Linked DNA regions of Homo sapiens: regions 1 and 3 are each linked to region 2. The links are contacts of gene promoters, found by promoter capture Hi-C in blood cells and fetal thymus (Javierre and others, 2016). All regions are on one chromosome and are shown on one strand. Each heading gives the region's core, a stretch centred on a gene start or on the middle of the fragment in contact. The rest is flanking DNA. Distances are from core to core; before and after follow the strand shown.

Evidence for each region. The method cuts DNA at HindIII sites, captures the fragments that hold promoters and counts their contacts. A CHiCAGO score of 5 or more calls a contact.
Region 1: a contact is called between a fragment that was not itself captured here and the fragment with the promoter of PAQR3 in region 2, in 1 of 17 cell types (M0 macrophages). The highest score is 5.4, in M0 macrophages.
Region 3: a contact is called between a fragment that was not itself captured here and the fragment with the promoter of PAQR3 in region 2, in 4 of 17 cell types (monocytes, M1 macrophages, M2 macrophages and 1 more). The highest score is 10.8, in monocytes.

Annotation. Positions count from the first base shown.
Region 1 is chr4:80,020,479-80,023,617 of GRCh38, reverse strand. The region is part of intron 10 of ANTXR2 (ANTXR cell adhesion molecule 2); the gene reads left to right. Among named protein-coding and RNA genes, the nearest start is that of ANTXR2, 51 kb to the left of the region's middle. The HindIII fragment of the contact is 487 bases long and covers 1,092-1,578 here.
Region 2 is chr4:78,937,965-78,941,250 of GRCh38, reverse strand. It overlaps PAQR3 (progestin and adipoQ receptor family member 3), which reads left to right and starts at 1,813. Exons shown (of 6, transcript NM_001040202.2): 1 at 1,813-2,211. The coding sequence starts at 2,027. RefSeq lists silencers at 1,634-2,123, 2,214-2,283. The HindIII fragment of the contact is 16,646 bases long and covers 1-3,286 here.
Region 3 is chr4:80,044,685-80,047,718 of GRCh38, reverse strand. All of the region lies in intron 7 of ANTXR2 (ANTXR cell adhesion molecule 2), which reads left to right. Among named protein-coding and RNA genes, the nearest start is that of ANTXR2, 27 kb to the left of the region's middle. The HindIII fragment of the contact is 727 bases long and covers 1,281-2,007 here.

The sequences.
Region 1 (3,139 bases), core at 86-2,585, 1.1 Mb before region 2:
TCTATGCCAAGGCCAAGTCTGTTGAATCTCCCACACAGCCCTCTAGAACCCCTGTGCCTAAACCTATTTAATATCGCATTCTTTTGTAATTGTTTACGGGGCTTCCTTTTATTTACATTGTAATTTGTATTATTTGTTACTGCAGCCATTTTACCAAGTACAGCCCAATTATCATTGCTACTACAATCAATTAATAAATACTCATTTAATTAACTAGTAATAAAATAAGTGACTGATTGAGTGATTTTATTGGCAGATATTCCTAAACCAATTTGGAGTGTGATTTTAGGCCTGAGGTTTAAGCACAGAGCTCAACATAGCTATAATGTTGGATTTAATCAAGGTCATGTTTTATAACAGGAAGAATATGGCATTGAAAAAATTTTTTACATGAAACTGCCTGACATTATATAGTAGGCATTTTTTGAACAATTTAGCTTACAATATTTTTATATGGCAGTGAGCAGAATAGAAATTAATTAAATTAAACAAAAGGTATTACATAATGATTTTATTGCTTCTATATACATTTCTTCTTAGCTTGGATCTAAAAGGTTTATTAAAAAGTACCTTGATATTCTAAATAATCCATTAGACAAATATTCAGGTGTTAACGGTAATTTATGGAGTACCTGTTGTGTCCCAGGTATTGTGTTGTATATTTTATGTATATTATTTTACCAAGCTCTGTTCCTTAAAACAACTTTGAAATAGGTACAGTTATCCCCATTTTACAGATTGAGAAATGGAAGATTAAAAATGGAGTGATGAGGGTTCAAACTCAGGACTCCAGTTTCGCCCAAATGCCCTTTTTCAATATTATTAGATCCTTGGGGCAAATAAAAATGAACTGCTCTCTTGCTTCCCATATATGTTTGCAACTAAGTAAACACAATGTTGTTTTAATACATTTTTGCCCATAAGAAAGCCTCTGTTACTGAGCGTATGGCTTCCACTGTCAGAAACATACTAACTAGAAGTAGAAGTTATGTAGGAGTAGGAATAACAATCCATAGATGCTAACAGAAATGACATAAAATATGACAGAAAACACTAAATATGTATAGTTGACTCTTGAGGCAAGGAAAGCTTACCGAATTTGGTTTGCATTACAGTGGGCGGTTTTCTCAACCTATGCCAGAAAAGGAGTAGCATAGCTTTGGGCAAAGGCTCTAGCTTAATGATGGTGCCAGTACCATACCAATAATTTCAAAAATGTTTTTCTAAAGAAGCAGCAAAGTTTAAAAGCAGATGTAACTGTGTTTTTCATATTTGCAACTTTTCTGAAAAATTTTCACAGAATACATATATCTATACACACATATTCATAAATATATATATTCACAAGTAAATATATTGCTTTAGCATATAGTAAATGCCATTCTAGTTAACCATGAGAAATATGTGAATGTAGTAAAAAGCTAGAAGATTCAAATGAAACTCATACTAATGAGAGAAATTTAAATATAAGATGCTAAAATACATGTGGAGGATTAAAGTAGTATGTTGTAGAAGTGAAAGCATTTTGAGTACAGAGTCAGTGAAGTCCAATATTTGGACAAGTTACCTTTATAAGCTTGTTTCTTCATGGGCAAAATGGAGATGATGCTAGTGCTGACCTCAGTAGGTTGTTGTGAGAATTAAATGAGAAGATGAATTAATGTGTCTGGTTCTTAGTAAGAAATCAACAATTGCCTGTAATTATGAGTGGTGTTTATGGTTACATTTTGATCACGCTGCTACTACTACTCTCAAAAGGAGGAAGATATTCTTGTTTCAGTTCCATACATCATATATCATCAAGTGGATTTCTATATCTGCGGAGAATTAACTCAGTTTTTGTTTTTTTTTTACACCAGCCACATTATACTAGAATGAGATTTTCGGAGAATGCAGTTATTTTTGTCGGTTACAAGATCATATCAGCATGCATTTCTACCATAGGAAAGAGTAAACTTTGTTTTAAAATGACATCTTCTGTTCTCATTTCATTTTTTTAAGCATTAAAAGTTTGAATGTTTCCTTCATTAATTAGAGAACTTGTTCGTTTCTGGTGAATTTTAACTGTCAGATTATAAACAACTTCAGTCAATGTCTACTGATCCCTTAAAGTTGAATCAGTAAGATTACCTGCAAGAATCACATATTATTATGAATGAAAATTATCTTTCCAAAAAATAAAACCATGCCAACATGTCAGATGATTCAGGCCACATTCTTTAAAGTAGAGGAATTAAGAACTAGGGAAGACAATTTTTTATTTGATTATGCTTAGTCATTAAAAAAACAAAACAAGGCACCCATTTCTTCAGAATGAGCAATTAGGTTTAAGTTTTCTTTCTTAATACGCCACTTGGCCTTCTGTGTTGGAATAGTTCAGAAGTATAGTTAATTAGATGTAAACATCCGGAATTCTTATTCTCTTCTGGATTTAGCTAAACCATCTTTTTTTTTTTTTTTTTTTTTTTGAGATGGAGTCTCGCTCTGTCGCCCAGGCTGGGGGTGCAGTGGTGTGATCTCGGCTCACTGCAACCTCTGCCTCCCGGGTTCAAGTGATTCTCCAGCCTCAGCCTCCCAAGTAGCTGGGATTACAGGCACGTGCCACCATGCCCGGCTAATTTTTTTGTATTTTTAGTAGAGACGGGGTTTCACCGTGTTAGCCAGGATGGTCTCAATCTCCTGACCTCGTGATCTACCCAAAGTGCTGGGATTACAGGCGTGAGCCACTGCGCCCAGCCTAGCTAAACCATCTTTTTAAACAAGATGCTTTGAAGTAAATACTTTACACAGAAATATTTTAATAGAAGTATTTCTATATTTTGATTGAATTTAGCTTGAACTTTGCCAGGAATATCCTTCCCAGTAGCTTTCTTGTATGAATCCAAACCAAATAGCACATTGAGAAAAAAAACACATTAAGGACTTTGATTTCATCATTTAATCAAGCCTCTCTGATATGATGGAAAGAGTTCAAAGTTAGAATCCTAGCTGTATTACTTTGGGCAAAGTAATTAACATTTCTGGGCCTCCTGCCCCCCATCTGTAAAACTGTGAAACTACTATTTACTTCAAGGGCTATTGTGAAGGGTTGAAATAGATAATGCCCATAAAATGCCTAGGATAGCATCTGGCAATAGTA
Region 2 (3,286 bases), core at 564-3,063:
GTCAGGAGTTCAAGGGCAGCCTGTCCAACATGGTGAAACCCCATCTCTACGAAAAGTACAAAAATTAGCCGGGCATGGTGGTGGGTGCCTGTAGTCCCAGCTACTCGGGAGGATGAGGCAGGAGAATTGCTTGTACCCGGGAGGTGGAGATTGCGTGACCCGAGATTGTGCCACTGCACTCCAGCCTGGGCTTCAGAGTGAGACTCTGTCTTCCCCCAACAACAACAACAACAAAAAATCTAGTAAGGTTACTTTCTGACTGTCCCTGCCTTTCCGTGGTCACAAAGGAGTTCTGACTTACCTCACCTGAAACTAGGTCATAAAACCCTCATTCTAGAGAGTTCCTGCCCCATACTCTGAGGCCAAGAATTTGAATGAACTGGCCTTGCTAGCTAGGATCCCCCCTCAGTTTATTATCATTAGATGATGCCCCCTTTCAATCATGTTTCTCCACAACTATCCACTCCTTTCATCAGACTTAGCATAAAAAGCCCATTTTTTCCTGGGTCTTTGTGTCTTCATTTCTGAAGACTCCTCTGTCACATAAAACTGTGTTAAATGAATTTATTATCCCTTTTCTTGTTAATTTTTATTATTTATTTTTTGAGACAAAGTCTCGCTTTGTCACCCAGACTGGAGTGCAGTGGCACAAACATGGCTCACTGCAGCCTCGACCTCCCAGGCTCAAGCAACCCTCTCACTTCAGCCCAGAATAGTTTGGGACTACAGGCGCCCATCACCACACCCGACTAATTTTTGTTTTTTGTTTGTTTGGTTGGTTTTTTTTGTAGCGACAGCGTCTCACTATGTTACCCAGGCTGGTCTCCAACTCCTGGGCATAAGCAATCCGCCTGCCTCGGCCTTCCAAAATGTTGGGATTACAGGCATGAGCCACCTGCGCCTGGCTTCTCTTAATTTTTTTCATAGGAATGTCAGCTGTGAACCTTGTGATAAGTGAGGACAAGATATTTTTCTTGCCCTTACAATGCCAAACAATGGACTAAGCGTTCTATTATACACATACGGTACTCAAACTGATGTTTTGCCCTGTTGCCATTATAAGTAAACACTTGCATTACAGTAAATAGCCAGAAACAAAGCTGCAACACTTCCTGTAAACGCTACTATAGCCGCACTCCACAGGATTTTTTAATATGTTCTATATTATTCAGTTAAGTAGATATTCTCATTTCCATTGTGATTTCTTCATCAGCCCTTGAAATATTTGGTGTATTGCTCCTATTCCAGACGTGGAGACTTTTAGTTTTCTTGTTACTCTAGTTTAATTCTACTGTGATCAGAGAACATAACGCTGAAAGGGGTCGGAGTTTTGAATGCACGGGGGCTTTCCTTTATGGCTCAGGATGTGCTCGATGCTGGTGTATGTTCCACGTGCATCAGGTTTCCTCTCTTTCCAATTATCGTGCTAAGAGCTGACTTCAGCTTAGAAATCCTCAAAGTCCCTTCTGACACTAAGTGTGTGTAATTCCAAGCATAAACTAAACGGTAATTACCTCGAACTTTTCTTCCTGTTAACTCTTTTCCTCTTGATTTTTCAAAATGCAGCAACTATTACTTCTAATAAAAAAACAGAAAAAGAAAAAAAATCCACTTGTATTCGCCTGTAGCTCTGTGCTTTCGGCTCTTCTCATATGCAAACGAAGACCCCAGGCGCCGCCAAAACACAGCGTGAGAGACGCCCGGGAGCCCGGGCCGCCGCCAGCGCACGCTCGAGCACACCCGGGCGCGCCCCAGCACCCTGCCCCTCCCAGCTAGGGCTGAGGGGCGGGGCCGCCGCGGCGCGCTGACGTCAGAGGAGGCTGCGACGCTGCCGGGTCCGCCGCGGCGCTGGCGGCAGTGGCCGGTGTGAGCGCAGAGCCGGGCCCTGGGCAGCAGCGGCAGCGCGGTAGGACCTCGCGCAGCGTCCGCGGGCTCCGGGGCGGGGGCGCCAGCGGCGAAGCCCCCTCCCCGGGGAGGCGGGACCTGGGGGAGCTCCCGAGCCGGGGAGCGGCGGCGGCCGGGAACGATGCATCAGAAGCTGCTGAAGAGCGCGCATTACATCGAGCTGGGCAGCTACCAGTACTGGCCGGTCCTGGTGCCCCGTGGCATCCGCCTGTACACCTACGAGCAGATCCCCGGGTCCCTCAAGGACAACCCGTACATCACCGACGGCTACCGGGCCTACCTGCCGTCCAGGCTGTGTATCAAAAGGTACGGTCTGGCTGCCTCCGCCTGGAGTGCCCCCTTCTCTCACCTACACCCTTTTTGTCTGGTCCCCCTTCTGCTTTCCCCGCCTTTCTGCTTGCCCATCATTTCCTCGCCGCCCCATCCTTTTCATCCCTTTTTGCCGCCTCTCCTCCCCCGTTATCTCCCCTTACCTGGCCGGGGTACTTGGTCCACGGAATAATCATGATAGTAACAGTGATCATAATTACAGCTCTCCTATGACGCTTTGCTCTTTACAAAGGGCTTTTACATCCTTTATTCGGTTTGTTCGGCTCATTGAGATATATATTGAAATGGGGCTGAGCCATATTTGCCCGGTGTATACCTTTCTTTTTAGAGCAACACTGTGGGAATTCAGTAGCTTTGGGCCAGATAAGTGCCTGTATAATAGGAAACAAGTTAACATATACACCCGAGATTTATTCATTTGGCAAATACTTATGGAGCCCATGCAGAAAAAAAAGCAAACATGGCCCTTGTTTTCATGAAGCTACTAAGGTGTAGCCTGGGTAACAGACATTAAATAGATAATTACACAATTACATAATAACCATTGTGGAAAAAATGCTGTGTAGGAAAAGTACTGTGGTAAAGAGAGCTCATAACGGGCACCCAGTCTCCACTAGAGCACCACAGAAGCATCTCTAAGAAAGAAATTTCTTTATCATTTTAAACCTTTAAAACCACAGTCCCTTGAAAATCCGTGTTTTAAAAAAACAAAACTGAAAAATAACTATTCTAGTTCTTGGAGTAACTGTCCAAACTTACTACCTGTACTAAAATACAGGACCTCTGCTTCAGGAGAATTAAGATACAGGTGTTGGTTAGCTCCAGGTCGCTGTAGTGGCAAACCCTAGTGCCAGAATGTGGGCTGTTGAATTGCTCAAGCGGCAACCACATGTCTGATTCTTGATTTTTCCAGCATTGTCTTTTCCTGCCCTTCTTTCCTTTTGTCCTGCCATGAAAGTGTTTCTGTGACTCATGGTCACAAGGTGACATCACTGCCCATCCCTACTTGGCTTGAATGGATGGCCCTTAGGATTCACAACTTGAAGCGTAA
Region 3 (3,034 bases), core at 395-2,894, 1.1 Mb before region 2:
GCAAAAGGAGGCTTACATGGTCCTCAGCAAGTATATTGGAAAGTGAGGGGTGTTGTCTTTGCATCAGTGTATAGGGTCCCAGATAAGAACTCTAATTGATTCGGTTGAGTCATGAGCTCATTCCTGTACCAATTCTGTTGGGGGCAAGGGAGAGAGGGAGAAGAAGGCACTGTGATTCACAGCCTCACTAGGACCACATGGAGTGGAAAAGAGTTTCCCAAATAGAAAGGAGCACTATTCATAGAAGTGTAAGGGTGCAAAAGTGTCCAGGGTAGGAACAAAAAAATCAGTAGTGATGACAGCTCACTATATTCAAATACATTTAAAATATTTTGACATATATTCTAAGAAGACACCCCATTCCTCCGAAATCCCACTTGATAATAAACATAGAAAGTTTCCTTTAAATTATTCATTTTATTAACTGATCTTATTTTGGCCTCTACTGTCCAAAGCTGTATTTGTATTTGCATGAAAATATTCCCTAATAATATTATTATTTTCTTTTTTTTAAAAAAAATTTGGTTGGGATTGTAGTTTAAGAAAATTAAATCCACTTTGAATAAATAAGTACAGCTTTGTGATAGTTTGTGAGAAAACTAAACTAAACTGATGACATTTGGTTACACAGATAAAATGAAATTCCAAATTTTAATTTCTTAACATTAACCTGTTGGACTATAAAAGGTGTCCTACAGAGGCTTACCTGCTCTTAAAAGCAGATTTAATTGAGTGGAAGGAAATTGAACAGGTGCAGAAAATGGTTAATATTTGTCACCAAATGTACCATTTGGTGTACATTATGAGGAAAAATGTACAATTTCTCAATTATACTTCATTTTCTCCAAATATAATAATTCTCAGTTGATTCAGAAGCATTTGTTGGGTACTGGGCTGTGTTCAAGACACTTTGCTGTGTTTTGTATTACCAAAATGGGTATGGTCCCCAAACTCTTCAGAGCTTACAATTTTTAGGATGTGTATTTGGAAAATTAATAGAAGAATTAGTAAGATATTTTTTCTATTATTGTTGCATAGGGAAACATTTCATTTGCCATCCTGGATTTCTGAAAAATCAAATGGAATAAATATAGACTAAGACTGCTTGGCAGATATACTTCATGTCTTAGTAAAACAAGAAAGTGGGCAAATAAGGCTAATACAAAATAATGTTTGCATCAGAGTGAAAATTATACCATGAACAAGTTTCTTCAAATTCTGAAATAGTCTATTTATTATTATTTTATCTCATAAGTTCAAGGCAGTTTTTATAGGAAGCTTATTTATTTTCTAAGCTAGCATTAAATGATTATTTTGAGTTTGTGGTGACCAAAGACAACAACGACAACAGCAAAACCAAAAAGTAGTGGCAGATAAACTTGTTTCCAATCACAAACTATGCATTTTTGGAATTTTTTCTATATTGTAATGAAACAGCAAGACTGCTAATATGATTTATTTTAAATATCAGAATTGTGAGATGTGGAAGAAACTAAAGTTTTAAAAAAGATTTATTATATGAGAGTATGTTCATCAACAATGTAATCAGAACTATCCATCTGTTTTGTTTGGAGCTCAGAAGACTAAAAGACAATGAGTATGATTTACCTTCTTCCACAGTTCTCTTAGGGTAAAAGTTTGTTTAGAAATTTGTCATGTGTGCTTTTATTCCTTGCTTACTTGCAAGACAGAAGAGAATCCATATTTAGAAACTAGTCAGAGTGGTGTGTGCTGTATTGAGCAACTGATATTTTGAAGCTCTAAGCATTTTTAAGGAATGAACTCAACCAAAACATGTGATTATAAAATAGCAATTGTTCTTAGTTGAAGTATTACCCCTTAGAGAAAAATATATTTGGCTGGGGTGTTTGGAAGCCATAGAAAAAATAAAAATCACACATCTGAATATTAAAAGGTGAAAAGGAAACAAGACAAGAGGATGAGAAACACCTTTCCAGTTGTTTTTGCTGCTTATGTTATGCAGTTGGATGTCTAATTACTAAAGCTTCATTTTGTTAGACCTTTAAAACTAATACTTTTCATATATTTTCTCCTGATTTAAACTTGAAATCTTTTTGTATTGGGGATGAATCCTTTAGTGTTTAAAGCTGCTCAATGAGTCAGGAAAAAAAAAAAAAACCTTGCTTTTTTAGACTCTACTACCCTTGCCAATATTTTCTGACATGCTGTGGGTCATGGAAATTGGCAGTTTCTATCTGTTAAGGACACACCTGGAGCACTTGTAAATTATTTGTGATGATCGGTTGCCAGTGATGTTATAGATCCAAAATCAGTGTCAAAAAATTCTTGCTGAGGTGAATATTTAGAATTTTTAATAGATTTGTAAAAATTTTGGAGAACTTTAGGTAGCACATGTGAATGTATATATGAAGAAATAATCTATTTTGGGGAGGAAAAAGCCTTATTATTTAGAGTTGATCCTAAAAAATGTTATTACAGAGGAAACCATTTAATGGGAGTTAATACCCCTTTTCTCTTTTTATATATTCTACCTAAAATAAGACTTTAAAAAGAAGATAACACATAACTTAAGTTTGTTTCTCTTCATGTTGTTTTTGTTTTTGTTTAGTTTTGCATCTGGTCCAATATGCCTTATAGGTACTATTAATTACCAAAATTTGAATTTATCCAAATAATTTTTTTCACTGTGTGTAACTGAAAATATGCTTTGATTAATTCAAATAACTTCTCAGTAAGCTCTGTATCTTTTTACATGCATAACTCTTAGTGTTATATGCTCTGTTTTTTATGTTATAGTCATAATGGCCATGCTTCTTATTAAAAAGTTTTGCATTTACTTTTTAATTAAATAGAATAAACATTCATTGAGTAGCTGCTATTCATAAGATATTGCGCTATATACTTTTTATATTAGATTGAATTTTGAATATGTGGTGTTATTCATTTTAAAAGTTTTTATTTCATTCTTCTGGAATGGACTGCATTCTGTTTTCCAGATATAGTATCCTTCCTGTTGCCACTTAGAAATTAGAAAAAAAATATGGATTTTAAA